Regions from separate parts of the Homo sapiens genome. Here regions 1 and 2 are each linked to region 3. Evidence: promoter capture Hi-C in 16 types of primary human blood cells and fetal thymus (Javierre and others, 2016). All regions are on one chromosome and are shown on one strand. Each heading gives the region's core, a stretch centred on a gene start or on the middle of the fragment in contact. The rest is flanking DNA. Distances are from core to core; before and after follow the strand shown.

The links. Contacts are between HindIII fragments. The CHiCAGO score rates a contact against its expected background, and 5 or more counts as called.
Region 1: a fragment that was not itself captured here is called in contact with the fragment with the promoter of LPP-AS1 in region 3 in 1 of 17 cell types (naive B cells); the score reaches 6.0 in naive B cells.
Region 2: a contact is called between a fragment that was not itself captured here and the fragment with the promoter of LPP-AS1 in region 3, in 1 of 17 cell types (M2 macrophages). The highest score is 5.1, in M2 macrophages.

The regions. Positions count from the first base shown.
Region 1 is chr3:188,297,378-188,300,077 of GRCh38, forward strand. The region is part of intron 2 of LPP (LIM domain containing preferred translocation partner in lipoma); the gene reads left to right. Among named protein-coding and RNA genes, the nearest start is that of FLJ42393, 120 kb to the left of the region's middle. The HindIII fragment of the contact is 252 bases long and covers 1,260-1,511 here.
Region 2 is chr3:188,957,610-188,960,309 of GRCh38, forward strand. No RefSeq gene overlaps it. Among named protein-coding and RNA genes, the nearest start is that of TPRG1-AS1, 11 kb to the left of the region's middle. RefSeq lists an enhancer at 1-75. The HindIII fragment of the contact is 1,303 bases long and covers 683-1,985 here.
Region 3 is chr3:188,567,225-188,569,924 of GRCh38, forward strand. LPP-AS1 (LPP antisense RNA 1) reads right to left here and starts at 1,442. Exons shown (of 2, transcript NR_046623.1): 1 at 1,151-1,442. All of the region lies in intron 6 of LPP (LIM domain containing preferred translocation partner in lipoma), which reads left to right. The HindIII fragment of the contact is 3,783 bases long and covers 5-2,700 here.

The DNA of each region.
Region 1 (2,700 bases), core at 136-2,635, 270 kb before region 3:
AAGGGGTAAAGACATAAATTCCGTAATACTACAATAGATGGGAGGCTCTAATCAAGTAGATAAATTCTATTTTTGGAATTGTGAATAAAGCAGAAAAGATTCTTGGAAATCAGGAATTGAATAGATTGATGGTACAAATGAGAGACTATATGTTGCTTAAAGAAAACAAAAGATTGCCTATCAGGTTTTAAAATGTGAGTCAGTAGTTTATATAGTGATTCAAGCTGAACAGCTATCTTGGTTATTAACTAAAATCTTTTCTTTCCCCTTCCATTTTATATATGAAGAAACTATTAATACAAAAGTCATTATCAAAGGACACTGGGGCTAGGTTTCATTACCCAGCTTAATCCTTAATTTCATATTGAGCATTTCATATTGAAGTGAAACAATAAGGATATGTTTCTAGAGACTGATGAGACAACTGAATTGGACTTGGTTTTGACATTCAAAGGGATCAGGTAGAGGTACTTAGTTGAGCTCACTACTTCATTTTGGCAAAAGACATATGTCATAGAAATGTAGTAGCCATGATGGATTATGTATCTTTGAATTGGGAGCCTATGACAAATTTTCTCCAATGGGAAGTTTCTTCAGAGCCTATCATTGTTTCAACAATAATTAAAGTAATTTACAGAGAATGTGCTCATCTACTTTTACCTACTGTTATCTTTTTTCCAAGTTAATAAACTGAATATATTGTATAGATTGGTTGATAGCCTTCCTGAAATGAACATCCTTTGCAAACCTATCTCTCCAAACCCAAATCCTGCCCAAATTTCCCAATTGTGGTAGCAAGCCCAATGAGCTCCTGATACGATCCTAATAGGATCCTCTTCTCTGGAAATCCTCGACAGATCACACTTCTCTTTTCTTGGGAACAGCTTTCTGTTTCCTTGTCCAGAATGGATGCCGTTCTGTTATCCTGGTCACTCTCTGGGCCCCCTCCCTTTGTCCACCATGAGCACAGGCTACTGGCCACTGATCCTCCTGGGGGCACTAGCCTGGCTACCCCATTGCTTATTTTACCTTTGCTTCTCTTAAATACCATTGTTGGTGATTGCTCCACACAGCAATTGTTCTCACCTAAGTCTGTGGATAAGACTCACTTAGGGAGGTTTTACCAGAATTCAGCTCATCTCCCTAAATGTTTGGGTCTGGACTAGGGCACACACTTCTCGTGAGGCGCTTCTCATGAGTACCCCTTCTCAAACTTTACGGGTATCAATTTACTTATGGCCTGCAGTGCATAAAGTGAAAGCTTTCTGAAAAGACATTTAATCCATCGGTATGAGGATGAAAAAGACACACTCAGGGCATGAAAAGAGTGAGAAGGTCACAAAAAGGGTGTGGTCTCAGCTGGAGAGGAAGCTGAACAATCCTATAAAGGAACAAAAGCTCAGCGTCCTGACCATCTGTTTCTTTCTACCCCAGGCCCATTCCCATCATGAGTATTTATTCTGCCCAGTGTGGGATGGGTTCTGTTCTAGAAGTTTGCATGAGCAGAGGGAAGCTTAGCCCCATGAGGCCAGTCATGAGGCTCCATCTTATTCTATAGGCTTCAGCCTTTTTATGAAGACCTAGCTTCTACTCTTGCCCCAGGCCCTAAGCAGGCCCAGACTTTTCCCATATACACACACTCTCTCTCTAACTTATGTGTCTTACATCTTAATAAGGCAGCAGATTGTATCAGAATCAGTTAACTCTTTATCAAAAAACCCAGAGCAGACAGACGGGTGAACTTGCTCATGGGCTGAGCTAGAAGGGAGGCCACTTTTCCTTCACACAGCCTCGGACTCTCCCTGGGCTTTTTTGTGTGTGCTGCGTGGAGACTGTGTTCTAACATTTCAGTCATATCTTCCTTATTTTAAAACTACAGAATTGATCTTACCAACTTACTGGGGAGCACGTCGTCAGTAAATTCTAATGGAAAAACCTGTCTGATCAATGGGACAGGAAAGCGTCACAGCAATACCGGTGAGTCATTCCAAGACCAGGCACATTTGAGCTGTGTTGCTTCTTCGATGCTGACTATAATTCTCCCTCAGCATTACGTCGTCTTAAGCAGCTTTTGAATCTTCGTCTCTGATTCCCTTTCTAGGTCAGACTGTGTCTTTTTTTAAAATTGTGCCTGGATATCCCCTTAATAGGTTGGACAAGTCCCGTTAGGATAATTGGCTGTATGAATATGCGAAAATAGCAACAGTGAATTTTAAAGTTCTTGAATAGTCTCCCCGTCCCACTGTGAGGTGAGGCATCTGGGGTGGGCTATCTGTTTTTTGATTCTTGGTTCTTGTTTTTAAAAAAATAGGATGTTGGACCTTGGGATGAGAGGGAAGTAAAACAGTTTTGGAACCCTTTTAGAAAGCAAACTAAGACAAAACTCCTTTCTTGAGAAAAATGGATGGACATTGTAAAGAAGACAGTAGGGCACCAGGAAGCCTTGAGCCAGGTCTGCCTGTGTCACATTTCGAGTTATGAGCTTCACCGCTCTGCTGTCTGTCTCTGGAGATCATCATCAAACCCCTTTCTCTGAGTTGTTGAATGGCTCAGATGAGTTAATGCCTATGAAAGTACTCTGTAAACAGAAAAATACCTTCCTATTTGTAATCTCAACAAAGGGACTTTTATCATCCCTAAAACAGAACAGACATTTCTTTTTCAATTATGAAAGTTACATAGACTCTTTTTAAAAAGTTA
Region 2 (2,700 bases), core at 84-2,583, 390 kb after region 3:
GCTACTTTTATTAGTAAATGCAATTATATAATTTAAATATTATGCAAATAGATGAAATATAAGTATAAAAATAAAGAGACTGTGTCCATAAAAATTAAATTGATTGCTTTGGAAAGGCTCAAGAGGGAAGAATTGCTGAAAAAATGATCTAAAATTAGTTTGTGGATGAGATAACTGTAGAAGAATAACACAAAGATTAAAATCCAGAATAATTGTGCAAGTTTCTAAGGTTTTTATCTGCTACAAAGAACAAAAGAAAAGAAAACAAAAACAAAAATACCTGAAACTTCAACTAATAGAGGATGCATGATGGGAGTGATTTATTCAAGAAAAATGAGATGGAGCTTCACAAATGGAAAATGTGCACTTAAAGAGAGGCCTTGGCTCTACCTACTGGCAAGTGAAAGTCTTAAGTTAAAATATATGTATTTATATGATTCCTAGCTTTAGCCAAAATTTCTGATTAGCTGACACTGAACTGTAATAGGTGAAAGTATTTCTTTAGTATTAAGATTCAGATATCAGAGTGAGATCCAGGAAAACTGGTTTACTTAATATCTCCTGAGTGCTAATCTCCTGAGGATTTGGTCTTTCAACAATTCCTGTAAGATCCGTTTTTATTTCCATAAGTCTCCTTTTTGCAGGCACTTTCCGCAGATCCTTTTCCCCTTGACAGTAAGTAAGCTTTGTCTCTGAACTAGGCCCCAAGAATTCAGCTTTCAAACCCTCTGTTAAATTAATGTTTGTTCACTTTAGCAATTCAGTAATAGTCACTCAGGATCTAGAACAAGATCCAATGTTTGATGTCTTAAGATTTGAACAGTGTAGGGCCATATGTGGACACTATCAATATTACATCTTGCTTTTTCAAAATGTAAAAGCCATAAACATGGACACACTCGTTGTAGCCTTGTCTTCTGGGGAATGCATGTTATAGAAATAATATGCTGTGCAAAGATGTTCATTGCAGCATTATGTGTAATAGCAAATACACTAGAAGCAACTTAAATATTTAGCAACAAGGTAATCATTTTATTGTGATATTTTAGCCAAATACACTAGAAGCAACTTAAATATTTAGCAACAAGGTAATCATTTTATTGTGATATTTTGGCCAAGTATCATTTGGTGGTTATTGCTCGTCACTCATGTAGTAATTACAATGACTCTGTTGGAATGAAGGAAAAAAGTCCAAAAAAATAAGAACAGGCCAGACTTTGTTTTTGGAATTAGAAATGAACCTTGAAAATTTCATAGTCAAATTCTGTAATTCTAAAATATAACTATTATCAATAAGGAAAATTGTTCATGATAGTATTTTAAGTGAAGAAAGAAAAATACAAAATGGAATGAACTTCACAATTACCAACTTTGTAAATAAAGGTATGAAATGTATGAACGGGGAAAGATTTAAGGCTTTACCTTTTGCTAATTTTTCTTTTCTGTTTTATTCTTTCGATGATTGTAAAACCCCACATTATGCAATAATTCACCAGTTTTTCAACACTGGCATCCTGGGAGGCCTTGAGGTGCCTGGGATTTGACTTAAAGTTGGCTAGAACCACAGGATCACCCCTCTAGAGGAGTGAGGATTAGGCAAGAGCTCACTCAATTATAGGTGGACTGGGTTGGAAAGTACCTTTGAGATCATTAAGATGAATTATACCACTTAAAAGCAATTTGATCTTGAATAAGTTACTTGTCTTTGCTAAACCTCAGTTTCCTTACCTGAAAAGTGGCATAATAAAAGTATCTGTGCCTGAGTTTTGTGGTGAGGTTTAAATGATATAAATGCAGTAGATGGCACAGAGTAAGCTCTCAGTACATGTTAGTTATTGATATCACAGAAGCCAGTGGTTGAGCCAGGGCCAGAATTCACTTTTTTCAACTTCCTTACTGGGGCTTTTTCTGTCACACTATGTCATAGATCTTTCATCTTTACCCAGACTAAAATCCTTTGCTTTCGTGAGCACCGGGTAAGAGAAAGCTTATTCCGATAATACTGAGGATACTGTGACTTTACATAACTCTTGTCTATCAGGTGACCAATAGCATACACTATAGTCAGAACTACCTGTTAAAATGGCCAGAGATATCATAAGGAAAGGGTGCCTACTGAACTGAAAGCATGCCTTAAATAAGACAGAACTGGGCTCAACTTCTACAACAGTGTATGTCCTGCTCGAGTTCTTATTCTGCATTTGTTTTTATGAGCCTCAGTTTTCTTATTGGATAAATGAAAATCATTCTTCTTATACGGATGAAATATGAGTTGCCACATGTAAAATGCAATGCAATTCAAAGTAGTGATTTTTAAAAATTATTTTATTAAAAAAGTTATATTGTATGTTTTATGTGCTAGGCATTATTCCAAGGGATTTATAACAATTAATTCATTGAATGGATTCCTTATAGCAATTCTATGAGGCAGGTACTATCATTATTGTTGCTTTACTCAGGGAGGCACAGGAATGTTGAGTAACTTATCCAACATCACAGAAGTTGTGAGTGGTGGAGCTGAGGTTTGAACCTAGACATTCTGGCCACAGAATCCATGCACAGCCCTCATGCTGCCTTATTATCACTGAAACAGCTTTGGCCTAAGAGAAACCAAAGTCAAATATAAATTCTAGAATCTGTTCTTCTTTCTTACAAGGTCCCATTCAGTTTAGTTCAGTCCCATCCACGGCAATCTGATTC
Region 3 (2,700 bases), core at 192-2,691:
TTAAAGCTTTTATGTAACCTTGAACAAGTTCCTTAACCTCTCTGCGCCTCAACTTCCACATCATTAAAATGGGGATGATAATAGGACCCATCTCATAGGATTGTTAGGACTATTAAATGTATTATACTCTATTACTTGTATCCTATAAAATATCTTTCTCACAGTTTAATTTCTTGAAAATTGAAACACATCCTATGATTGATGTGGTAAGAAACCATTGTAACACATATTAAGTGACACCTGTTGGTTCTTTGTTAGTAGGTTAGTAGGGAAAAAAAAAGATGCAGTTTATAGTCAAAGCCGTGTGTAAAGTGTGTCTAAAGTGCTTAAAACAAAGCCTGTCATACAGTTGGTCTTATAGAATGATGCTGTTATCATCATTGCCTGAATACCATATTTGTGGTATGTAAAATATTTGTCTCCAATTTCACTGGCTTCTGTCCTATGAAGCAGATATACTTATAGTTCCTGGTCTTTGAGTAAATAGAGCCTAGAAGGATTATCAGATATTACACAACTGCCAAATAATGACTTACATCAAACCAAGAGTTTATTCCTCTTCTCATGCATATCAACACCTGTTTAATCTGATCATGTTTTCAAAAACCCACTAGTGATCTATTTATTTCTAGCTATAGCTTTCATCACCTGTATTTGGTGATTTGTTGCTGGCAGAGTCCATACTCATAACACTAAATCTGACTACTGTGATTACAACAGTCTTTCTAAGTTAGATACCACTAATGATATTGATTAGGGAGAAGGCATTCTTTGTGATCCTATTTGCACGATCTCGGGTAATTCACTTACTGGACCCAATTGTTAGTTGTGAAATGTGAATGTTGAAAGCAGTGAATCTTCCAGCTGCTTGATTTGTGATATCACTATCAATTTACCTACTGAGGAGCTTCATATAAATTGGTCATTTGTAGAAAGTAGTTCAGTGGCTGAGAATCTGGCATAATATTTTATTTTTATGAAATTTCAGTAAACATTATTGAGCAACTTGTAGGTTTCAGGCTCCACGATAGGGATGCAAGCATGTAAGACCTCTGTCCAGCAACTGAGAGGTAAAACTACAATGAGAAAGATAGACTGGTAATTCAGATTTATTTTTAAATAATAGCTTTTTGAGATATAATATACTTACCCTTCAATCCACTGACTCTGGTTTTAAAGGAGATGATTAATACATTCACTCAACCGATATTGAGCATCTGATATGTGCCAGAGACTTCCTATGTGCTAGGGTTATGGAGATTGACAATAGTTATACAAAACTGAGCCTGTCACAAAATGTGTATCGACAGACAGTCTTCCATTTGGTGCTATAGACCAGTACTCAGGGTCAGCAGAGGGTACTCTGGAAGCATATTCAGGGACAAAGCAAACCTAGTCTTGGAAGATCTGAGGAAGTTTCCTATGATCATGTCTGTCTCCTGCCATAACACCCTGAATGCATCCGATCTGAACTAAACTGAGGTCTGACAAACTTGTAGGAGTTTGCGAGGTGAGTGGCTTGGGGAAAGTAGAGAGGAAGAAGTTTTTCTGGAAGAGAAAAGAAAATATGCTGTGGCTCTGAGGTGAATCACATATAATGCACAATAGCTTAGTATTGTGATAACATTTGGGACTGTGTGGGCAGACAGTGGCTGCAGGGCCTGAAGGGTGGAGAGGGGGAACTTACGCTTCAGTAGGGGTGTATATGTCTTATTATGAGGTCACAATGAAGATTGAGGTCAGCTAGAGGATGTGACATTCGAGTTGGGTCACAAAGGATGTACAGGAGTTTTTCAAGGCTGACCACAGTCTAGGCAGAAGAAATTGCAATTGTGAAAGGAAGATTTGCGTGAAAGAATGGTGTTTTTGGCTGAGTGAGGAATTTGAAGTATCTGGAAAATGGAGTAAGTGGCACAGAGAAAGAAAACAGCCAAATAATAATAATAATAATAATAAATTGGTGAGGGTTCGGAGAGCCGCTTACAATTGGATTCGGTGCAATGCAATGACTTTATATGTTCTGTACCTTGTCCTTGTAGGCAGTTGCAGGCACTAGGGACAGGAGTCTGGGGGGAAGACAGGAGCATTGAAAGTTTGAGGAAAAAATGAGAAGCATGCTTTAGAAAGATAATCTGAATATACTTGAATTGGAGGGGCCCTGGATTGTGAATGAAAATTAGAAGTATGTCATCTGTATTGTGTAGGATAGTGCTTATCTACAAAGAATTTTATGTAGAATTCCCCATCAGATTAACCCTTTGCAGCAATAGCCAATTATTTCTGATATTAAAAATTATAATTAAATAAAAGATATGGATTGGTAACTAAACATTTATTGAGAAGTTACTGTATCACTTCCACAAATCAATTCACTTATTTTTCTTAGTAATCCAATGATGTAGCCTGTCATTTCTCCCATTTTTCAGCAGAGGAAATTGTGGCCCAGAAGGTTGTATGTAACTCATCGAGGCACTAAGTGGCAGAGGTCATGTTTCAGCCTCGGCCATCTGGCTCCAAAGCCTAAATGTATGAATTGGCCACTAAAGGCACAACTGAAAATACTAACAGTCCCTGTGTTAGTGAAGAGGGATATTTGGCAAAAAGTTTTTATTTTGCTTTTTTACAATTCAGTGATTTGTAATTTATTTACAGAGTCATGCAATCATTACCTCAATTTAATTTTAGAACATTTAAAAAGTC